Regions from separate parts of the Homo sapiens genome. Here all the other regions are linked to region 3. The links are contacts of gene promoters, found by promoter capture Hi-C in blood cells and fetal thymus (Javierre and others, 2016). All regions are on one chromosome and are shown on one strand. Each heading gives the region's core, a stretch centred on a gene start or on the middle of the fragment in contact. The rest is flanking DNA. Distances are from core to core; before and after follow the strand shown. Region 1 overlaps CPSF3 (cleavage and polyadenylation specific factor 3). Region 2 holds the start of RRM2 (ribonucleotide reductase regulatory subunit M2). Region 3 holds the start of ADI1 (acireductone dioxygenase 1).

Region 1 (3,073 bases), core at 573-3,072, 5.9 Mb before region 3:
CCTCTTGTACTTCCTCACCTTCTACTCGCTCCTCAATTCGCTATACTCTGGCTTTTACCAATCACTTTTCTGAAACTGTCCTTGCTGCTCAGTAGTCATTTCAGTCTTTTTTTTTTTTTTGAGACAAGGTCCCCCTATGTTGCCCAGTCTGGCCTTCAACTCCTGGGCTCAAGTGATCCTCCCGCCTCAGCCTCCCAAGTAGCTGGAACTATAGGTGTCAGTCCCTATCTTGTTCTCTTGGCAGCCGTTGTCACTCCTAAGGAGTACCTGCTCCTTCCTCAAGCACCTCTCCCTTGGCTTCTCTGACCTGATGCTCTCATCTTGTCTTGCTGGCTTTCCTGTTTCCTTCACATATTCAGCCACCTCTGCCTACCCTTTAAATGTTGATATTCCGAGGGTTTGCTCCTTGGCCAACTTCTCAATCTTCATTCTCATCTTTCTGACATGCTAAGGACTTCCAAGCCTGTATTTGTAACCCAGATTGTTCTTCTGAATTCTAGACCTTTAATACATACACGTGACACTAGGTATCTCTACTAGGATCTCTCCCGGGACTTCATATTCAAGATGCCAAACTAGTTTCCACCACATGCCCCGTACTTGCTCTACTTTCTTCCTGAAATGCTTTGTCTTCAGATATTGATGTGGTTGGCTCCTTTGTATCATTTGGGTCTCAGTTCCAACGTCACCTTCTCAGATGCTTTCCCTTGACTACCTCCTCTAATTTGCCCTTCACAGCAAGCCACAACCCAGCATCAGTTATCTTAATACAACTACATGAAGTTATTGTACCTACTTATGTCTTCTTTCAGGCTACTAAATGAAAGCTTCCTAAGAACAGAGGCATTGTCCATCTTATTCACTGCTGTATTGCTACAGTACCTGGCATGTAGCACATCACAAAAAATACTTATTGAATGAACAAAACTCCTCAATTTTGAACCTTGGAAAGATTATGCTAAATGAAAGATGCCAGAGACAAAAGAGTATGTATTGTATGATCACACTTACATGAAATGTCCAGAACAGGCAAATCTATAAAGAAGTAGATTAGTGGTTGCTTAGGGCTGGAGAGGTAGTGGGGATTGTCTATGACTGCTAATGAATACAAGGTATCTCTTGGGAGTGATGAAAATGTGCTGGAATTAGAGAGAGGTGATGGTTGTATAACTCTATGTTAAGAACGACTGAATTATACTCTTTAAATGAGTTGTATGGTATGTAAATTGTGAGTTGTATGGTATGTAAACTGTATCTCAATAAAGCTGTTACGAAACAACCAAATTCCCAAATTTACTCCAGAGTTGCCCCATCTCTTATACTCCTTGAGTGAATAACACTACCCTTTCCCAACTGCCAAACTTAGGAATCTGATCATAACATCCTCTCTGCCCTGCCTTCCCTCCCCACAACCACCCTTCCAGATACAGCTGATCAGCCACAAAATCCTGAAGATCTCATTTGCATACTCTCTCACACTCACATCACTCACTACAGGCTCTCGTCAGCTAGACTTAGAATCTTTCAATATCTCACTGAATCTGCTCTACTCAATCCATGCTTTTATTCATCCATGCTTTTATTCATCTGCTACACTGCTGCCAGGAGAGATTTTCCTAAAACATAATTCCCACAATATCCATGCTTGCTTAATAGCCTTCGCTGGCTCCCTGTAATTGACTTGATAAAGGTCCAAACTCCTGTGTATACGAGGTGCTTCCTAAACTGGACCTCAACTGCCTGTCGCTTCATCTGCTAACTCAACTCTTTAGCTACAGCCATGAGGAATCTGGCCACAAGCTGTGACCACTCTCACTTTCATATGTGCCACTTCCACTGCCTAGAACATCCTGGGCCCCCCAGTCTTTAACTCCTACTCATTCTTTAGGACTCAGCTCAGGCATCACATTTTTCAGGATCCACGAGGTATCCTTTTTTCCTCAATCTGTCAGAAATCCCTTTTCCATACTTTCACAGTGCTCAGTGCAATGCCTGCCTGCGTTCTTAGATTAGCTATTATTTACAAAGCACCTACCGCGATGTTCACTCTTCAAGTTTTATCTTATTTCCATATGAGAAAACGGGTTCAGTGAGATTGTTGTCCTACTAATTGGTCAAGTAGATAATGGACTTCAGGTCTGACTTCAAAGTAATAGTCTCCTATTATTCCAAAGTATCTCTCCAATATTTCCCACTGTGCACTGTAATTCTCTCCAAAAGAGCGAGAGCAATTAACTGGGCCCTCTGTTGCGTCTATATCCCCATGTGTGGTGCTTGACACTTGCTCAGTGTTTGCTCATCACAGGAAGACATGACAGGTGTGAACTAAGCAGAAGGAAACGGACTATGTCCCAAGCAGGTGCTCAATGAAGCCTTACTGAATGATTGTGTAAAGGAGATACTTTCTACCTTTTGGAAAGCGTATATTCATGTTGTGCCAACTAGTATCTAACAATAAACATGTTGTGGGTTCGAAATGCTCATCTGTAGGAATTCAAGTTCTCTACATTTGCATCTCCCCTTCAGCAGCATTCCCGACTGATGAGGATCGTGTCCACTGAAAGGCCACTCTCCTTATGGACAGTCGAGGGCTGAGTTTTTGTCCCTAACACCTCTGCACTTTCTCTTCTCCAGCTTTACACCTTCCTTATTCTACTAGGGCCTGAGCTGAGAAGATCGAAACTCACGGCAAGTCCCTAATATTTTCTAACTTCTGGCACATGTGAAGCCCTGGTGTTAAGAAACAGACTTAATTCTTCCCTGCACGGCTGTAGCCTCATTCAGGTCCTCCTCTCATCCTGTCGGTCATAAGCTTCACCGGCTCCCTCACAGCTTGCCCTGACGCGCAGAGATCCGTGCTTGTGCTAAGTGAAAACGCTTCTTAGCGTGTACGAAAGCGAGCGGTGGCCCCGTAAAACTTTTTTTTTTCCGACTCCAACATACCCTCCCCTGAAACTGATGAAAAAGCAAAATCCCGTTCACTCTATAGCAGGCCCCTTCCGATCAACGGTCCTCCAACCCCTCGAGCCTGAGAAGCCTGGCCCGCAAGCGCGGACCAAAGGCAGGCTGCCGG
Region 2 (3,150 bases), core at 480-2,979, 6.6 Mb before region 3:
CGCAATAAGAGATACAACCAAATTATTATTAAAACAGCAAAGCCACAAAAAGGAGGGAGCAGAGCCGGGCGTGGTGGCTCACGCCTGTAATCCCAACACTTTGGGAGGCCAAGGTGGGTGGATCACCTGAGGTCAGCAGTTCGAGACCAGCCTGGCCAACATGGTAAAACCCTGTCTCTACTAAAAATACAGATATTAGCTAGGCATGGTGGCGCACGTCTGTAATCCCAGGTACTCATGAGGCTGAGGTTGGGGAATCGCTTGAACCCAGGAGGCGGAGGTTGCAGTGAGCCAAGATCACACCACTGCACTCCAGCCTGGGCCAGAGTGAGACTCTGTCTCAAAAAAAAAAAAAAAAAGAGGGGGCAGATGTGGTGGCCACAAAGAGTCATCACATTGCTACCACTTAATATTGTCTCAGCTTCTCTAGAGTCGGGAAAATACCATAAGAAAGAACTGCAAAGTGTTACAAAACAGGAAATGCCATGTAATATAAAACCCAGCTTACACACACAGATGCACTCAGCATGGAAAAACATACAAGACGAGGAAAGCGAACTAGTTCGACCTCAGATCGTCAACGTCAAATGAATGAAAGATGTTTTGGAAACTCACCAAGTTTTCATTTACTATGCCATCGCTTGCTGCAAAGAAAGCCAGAACATGGGATATAAAATATCTCTCCTCGGGTTTCAGGGATTCCCAGTGCTGAATGTCCTTGGAGAGGTCCACCTGAGGTTCGGAAGTCACAATTTTAGCATAAAAGGAAGAGAGTAAAGCCTACAGGACTCACACTGAGCACTCAAACTTTAAGTATGCTGGCACCACTTACTATGCCCCACAGTTAGCCCCCCTTGCCAACGGGAACCTCCAAGTGCATTTATGTCTGAGGCGTGACGGTCACCCCTGCAGGGGTCTTCTGGGGTCCTCCGATTACCTCCTCGGCGGTCCAAAAGGAAGCCTCTGCCTTCTTATACATCTGCCAGATATCATGGTACTCGATGGGGAAGATGACAAAGCGGCGGGGGTTTTCTCTCAGCAGCGGCTCATCCTCCACGCCGGGGGCAGCTGCTTTAGTTTTCTGTTGGGGGAGAAAATAAAACATTTAAGTACCGGGCGAACCATATGAAACTAACGTTTTTCTGGACCAAGTCCTTTCCATTGGCGGCAATTTCACGGGGCCCGATGTGAAAACGTGGCTGTCCCGTCGCACTCCGTGGGTCGCAGCAGAGGAGCGCACGCCCGAACCGGGAAATGGGCCGAGGGGCGCGGGAGGCAGCCCTGGGGAGGGGCCGCCTAGGCGGGAAAGGAGCCGGGGCGGGAGTGTGAACAGCTGAGGAAACAATGCGGCTTTGGCGCCAAGACGCCCAAGGCCGTCCCTGGCCCCTCTGCCCCACGCCCGCCACTCACCGGCTCCGTGGGCTCCTGGAAGATCCTCCTCGCGGTCTTGCTGGCCAGGACGCGGGTCCCGCTCAGGGCCGGCGGCTGCGGGGAGACGCGTGTGAGTGAGGAGCGGCTTCGCTTTCCCTGCCTCCCTCCCCTGCCCGCAGCGCCCTCCCCGCGGGCTCACCGTGTTCTCCTTGTCGACCAAGCTGAGCCCCTTCAGCGGCGAGAGCTGCAGCTGCTGCGGGTCCGTGATGGGCGCGAGCGGGACACGGAGGGAGAGCATAGTGGAGGCGCAGCGAAGCAGAGCGAGCAGCCAGGACAGGACGGCTGGGACAGGGTGCACGGGCGACCCCTCACTCCAGCAGCCTTTAAATCTCCCGCGCCGCGCGCTCCCGGCCCTTCCCATTGGCTTTGGTGCCCCGGCCCTTCCCATTGGCTGTGCCATGCCTCCGACCCTTCCCATTGGCTGCGCCTTGCCCCTACCCAGGCTGGCCGCGGGGCCGCGCGCGATTTTCAAGCGCAGCGCGGGAGCCTCCGCCGGCGCCTTCCGGAGACCCCCGGGGACACCCCCGTGGACGCCCCCCGGGACCTCCCGGTTCCCCCCCCGGCCCGTCCGCTGGCTGGGTCGGGGGCGCCGCCGCCCAGGCCCCCACAGGTCCCGCGGGACCAGGGCCGCAGCCCCTGAGGGTCTCGGCGGCCTTGGCGCGCGCGGGCCCCGGTTCGCCCGGGAACCGTTTAGGATTGCGTGAGGAGCAGCGATTGGAGCCCGCGGGCGCGAGAGGATCCCCGGGCCGCGGCCCCGCCTCCCGAAAGCACCTCCTCCCAGCCGGGCCGCCGCCGGGCAGGGGGCTTAGCCAACGAGGTTGGTGCAAAGGCCTGGAAAACGCTCCTGGGTGCGGGGGAGGCGTTGCTGCGACCCTTTCGATCCGTGTCCCTGCGGTGGGGGTGCAAGGGCCCCGAGGCCTGACATTTTGGCGGGGTGGTCGGCGAGGACCCTACAGCCTAAAAGTTAGGGCCGCTGAGCCCCGTGGCTCGTTTTGCTGGGACAAGCGACCAGGCTTCTTACAGATTCGGTGTCCCCGTGAGTAAAATGGGACTCGTAACCGCGTGGACTGTTAATGCGGTGAGGAGAGCGTTCGTTGAGATGACTCATGTAAAATGTGCAGTCCTTTGTAAACCTTCAAACTACGGGACATGGCGAGAAGGCCCTTGGTGCAGTTTTCCACAGAAATCCTGTCTCCTGTCAGACCCCTGACCCCTATTGTCACCCTTGCCTTAAGAATTGCAAACTGTGGCTGGGCGCGGTGGCTCACGCCTGTAATCCCAGCACTTTGGGAGGCCAAGGCAGGAGGATTGTTTGAGGCCAGGAGCTGGAGACCATCCTGGGCAACATAGTGAGACCCCGCCTCTGCCATTAAAAAGAGAAGAAAAAAAGTTGTTTTAATTGCAAACTGAGCAAAAATTCCTGGGAGAAAGTTCACAGAATGATTTTAGGACTAGGAATTAATGTACTACTCATTGGGCGTCAAATATGCTGAAGAGGAGTTTGAAAACTCCACTGGTGTAGAGACTGGAACTTAGCAATAGCTTTCATTTAATTTTCTATGTGGCTTTCTGATTTGCCAGGCCCTGCAACGGGCAAAATGCCAAAAATAAAGGAAGAGAAAGAAACTTTAAGATCCAAGAAAGAAATCATTAACCTGAGAAAGCTTCAACAGCTGCGCTCAGGGCTGTTATTGAGAGAGACCCGGGACTTTTTTTTTC
Region 3 (3,318 bases), core at 647-3,146:
CTTTTAGTAGAGACGGGGTTTCACCATGTTGCCTCGGCTGGTCAAGTGATCTACCCTCTTTGGGCTCCCGAAGTGCTGGAATTACAGGCGTGAGCCACAGTGCCTGGCATCTGGCTCCTATTTTTAAAAGGTCACTCTGGGTGCTGTGCATAGAATGGATTGCACTGGGGCAAAAATGGAAGCGGTGTGAGGAGGGGGAATTTCAGTAGTCAATTCCATCAGGCAAGAAAAGACTGCAGAAAGAGTTGGGCTGGAGAGAAGTGAATGGATTTGCGGTGTGTTTCGAAGGTCAAAGCAACATGACTTGCTGATAGATTGGATTGGATCTTGAGGGTGAGGAAAAGCAAAACTGAGAGTACACCTAGATTTTTTTATTAAGCCACTGGGCAGTCAGTGCTGCCGTTCACTGAGACGGGAAAGGTTAGGGAGAAGCATGTTTGGGGGTGTGTGTGGGGAATCAGTTGTTTTGGCCATGTTAGGTTTGACACACTGATTAGCCATGTATGTGACAACACCAACTGGATACTCAAGCCTGAGGTTCTGGAATGAGGTCCAGGTTGGAGATGTGGCTGCAGGAGCCGGCAGCACAGCATGGAAAGTCGCCTGGAGTGAGTGGATAGGAACAGGACGAGGAGAGTCTGGAACGCTCCACTAACCAGTGGTTAGAGGAGCAGGAGCTAGGAGGGGCCTGGGAAGGAGCAGCCAAGATGCCCTCATGAAGGAAAATGAGAAAATGTTTCAAGAAGGGCGTGGGCAACTGTGACGAATGTTGCTGGTAAGAACAGAAGTGCCATGATTGGATCTGGCAATATGGCAGTCATTAGCAGTTCCCCAGTGGTGAGAAGCGAAGCCTTATTGCAGTGGCTTAAGGAGAAAATGCGAGGTGCGAGATTGCCATTAGATTCTTGCATGAAGGTTTGTCATGAGTGCTGCAGAAAAATGGGCAATGGCGTCTAAGGTGTGTTCTTGAAGGATGAGTAGTAACTGGTCAAGTGAAGAGGTGGAGAGGTAGGCTCTCTAAGGAGGATGTATTTGCAAAGCCATTAGAGCAAGGGAACAGAAATGAAATAAGTGTGTATTTTTCTTGCAATATTTCTGGAAGTTCAAGAGTCAATTGCATGCATTGGGGTTGTGCTCTTACAGCAGTCTCATTTAAATCCTGTCTGCTTTATCGTTATTTGTTAAAGAGACTGAGGGAATGGCTGAGATAATCTGATCTTTTTCAACTCGTTGGTTTGAAAAGACATCTAGGATGGTCAAGCGGCTGGACTTTATTAGCTACATTGAAAAATTCAGAATGGGATAGGGGAAGCTTGTTTTTATTCTAAGACTAGCACATTACAGTGTATGGGGAAGGGAGAAACGATGAAAAGAGGAAACAAGAGGAAGTTTAAAAAGTACAGGGTAGCACTGCAGAATGCCGACACTGCAAAAGTCTGGCGAGCGGGGAGGTGGAGGACAATGTCTCACCTGGGATCCGAGCTGTGAAGTCTCAACTGTGCCCATATGGACTGCATGAGCTTAACAAAATCCTTATTCTTTTTTTTTTTTTTTTGCATTTGCTTTCCATACTCTAAACACGTTTAACGTCGTTTGCCTCACAAGATTGCTCTGAAGGTGCAGGGAGACCGCGGCAGCACACACAAGGCACGTGCGATGCCTACGGTGAGCTTCACCTGCCCGGCGCGTCTGGCGAACGGCTGGCCCCGGGCCGCGGGCCTCAGGCAGGTCCGAGGGTGCCCAGGACAGGGTCGGGGCTTGAATGCCTTTGCTTCCGAAAACAGCGGAGCCGTGGGGCCTCCCCCGCGCCGGCCCTGCCTCCAACCAGCCGCCCAATCCCGGCTCCCATGCGCGTCCACGCCTCCCTATAAGATAAAGCGCGGCCGACGGGCTCCGAGCGCGGCCCCTGGGTTCGAACACGGCACCCGCACTGCGCGTCATGGTGCAGGCCTGGTATATGGACGACGCCCCGGGCGACCCGCGGCAACCCCACCGCCCCGACCCCGGCCGCCCAGTGGGCCTGGAGCAGCTGCGGCGGCTCGGGGTGCTCTACTGGAAGGTACGCGAGCCCAAGCCTCGCAGAGCGTGCGGGCGACGCCGACCCCCAAACGCCGCGCACAGCCCAGCCTCCTCCAGGTGCCGGGCAGCGGCCTGGGAGCCGCGGCATGCTGCGCATGCTCAGCAGCGGGATTTGGGGGTTCGTGGCGGCTCCCGGTGCCTGGGGTGGGCTGCGCATGCTCAGCAGTGGGGCTGGGTGGTCAGGGCCTCCTGCGCGGCGCCTGGGTGTGCTGCGCATGCTCAGCAGCGGCGTTGAGGGGTCGGCGGTCAGCCCCCAGCGCCTGTGGTGTGCTGCGCATGCTCAGCAGCGAAGTTTACGGGGTTGGCGGTCGGCTTCCGGCGCCTGGGGTGGGCTGCGCATGCTCAGCAGCGGGGCTGGTGGGGGTCGGCGGTCCGTTTCTGTTGCCTGGGGTGTGCTGCGCATGCTCAGCAGCAGAGTTGGCGAGTCAGGGGCCTCGCAGCCGGGACTCGCTGCGCACGCGCAGCTCCGGGATTGGCAGCGACCTGAAGGGTCGGCCGGCAGGGCTGCAAGATTCGCCGGAGGCGGGCTGCGAGTTCGTGGGCTCGTTGGGCTTGTCCGACGCCCTGCCTGCCTGGCTAACCTCGGTCAAAGGCCCAGGGGTTTCTTCTATCGGAGGAAGGGGGACTCCGCTTGAAAGTGTCCTGGGGGAGGGACCGGGCGCCAGCAGATCGAGGCGGGGTCCTGCCGCGGTCTGTCGGGGATCCCCGGGGGGTAGCGCTCGGTGGTGGGGTGGGGGCGTCTCCAGTGGGCGGTGGAGCTGGCTTGGGTCCCGGCTGGGCCCGGTGTCAGCCCTGCCTCTGTAACGCTAGCTTTGCAAGGCGGGGCTAGGCTTTGCACCGGTGTCCCGTTGCTTGCACAGCACCAGTCCAGATCCGCTCACCTTGTTTATTTGCAAATGGTTTTGCAGTAACAAAGGTTTACTGCAAAAGAGAGGGCCAGGGTAGGCCTCAGGGATAGGCTGAGGGGTGACTGGATCTAATCTTCATTCATGTGATTTAAATGAAATACACAGGGTTACCTGGACACCACACTTTTTCCCTTGGGAAAGGATTATAGAATATTCCAGCATAATCTATTTGGATATCATCTTGTTCTATCCTAAATAACAGAAGAGGGAAGTGACAATTGGCATACCAGTGCGAAACAGGGCATGCATGTTAATGTTTACATAGTATTTGTCTTTTCCTAGGATAAGGTTTAACACTTACCTTGCTGGAGGGTACTTCTTCAAAGCAATC

The links. Contacts are between HindIII fragments. The CHiCAGO score rates a contact against its expected background, and 5 or more counts as called.
Region 1: a fragment that was not itself captured here is called in contact with the fragment with the promoter of ADI1 in region 3 in 4 of 17 cell types (non-activated CD4 T cells, naive B cells, monocytes and 1 more); the score reaches 10.7 in non-activated CD4 T cells.
Region 2: the fragment with the promoter of RRM2 here is called in contact with the fragment with the promoter of ADI1 in region 3 in 1 of 17 cell types (monocytes); the score reaches 5.5 in monocytes.

The regions. Positions count from the first base shown.
Region 1 is chr2:9,423,923-9,426,995 of GRCh38, reverse strand. The region is part of intron 1 of CPSF3 (cleavage and polyadenylation specific factor 3); the gene reads right to left. Among named protein-coding and RNA genes, the nearest start is that of CPSF3, 1.8 kb to the right of the region's middle. The HindIII fragment of the contact is 1,985 bases long and covers 830-2,814 here.
Region 2 is chr2:10,121,318-10,124,467 of GRCh38, reverse strand. It overlaps RRM2 (ribonucleotide reductase regulatory subunit M2), which reads right to left and starts at 1,729. Exons shown (of 10, transcript NM_001034.4): 1 at 1,571-1,729; 2 at 1,411-1,485; 3 at 938-1,081; 4 at 616-732. The coding sequence starts at 1,669. RefSeq lists silencers at 1,768-2,268, 1,675-2,274 and enhancers at 2,495-2,604, 2,625-2,694, 2,452-3,007, 3,056-3,150. The HindIII fragment of the contact is 3,317 bases long and covers 1-3,097 here.
Region 3 is chr2:3,518,109-3,521,426 of GRCh38, reverse strand. ADI1 (acireductone dioxygenase 1) reads left to right here and starts at 1,896. Exons shown (of 4, transcript NM_018269.4): 1 at 1,896-2,059. The coding sequence starts at 1,940. LOC124907725 (a long non-coding RNA gene) reads right to left here and starts at 1,881. Exons shown (of 2, transcript XR_007086195.1): 1 at 1,471-1,881. RefSeq lists enhancers at 1,188-1,708, 1,709-2,230 and silencers at 1,650-1,779, 1,850-2,169, 2,250-2,309, 2,790-2,989. The HindIII fragment of the contact is 6,500 bases long and covers 1,315-3,318 here.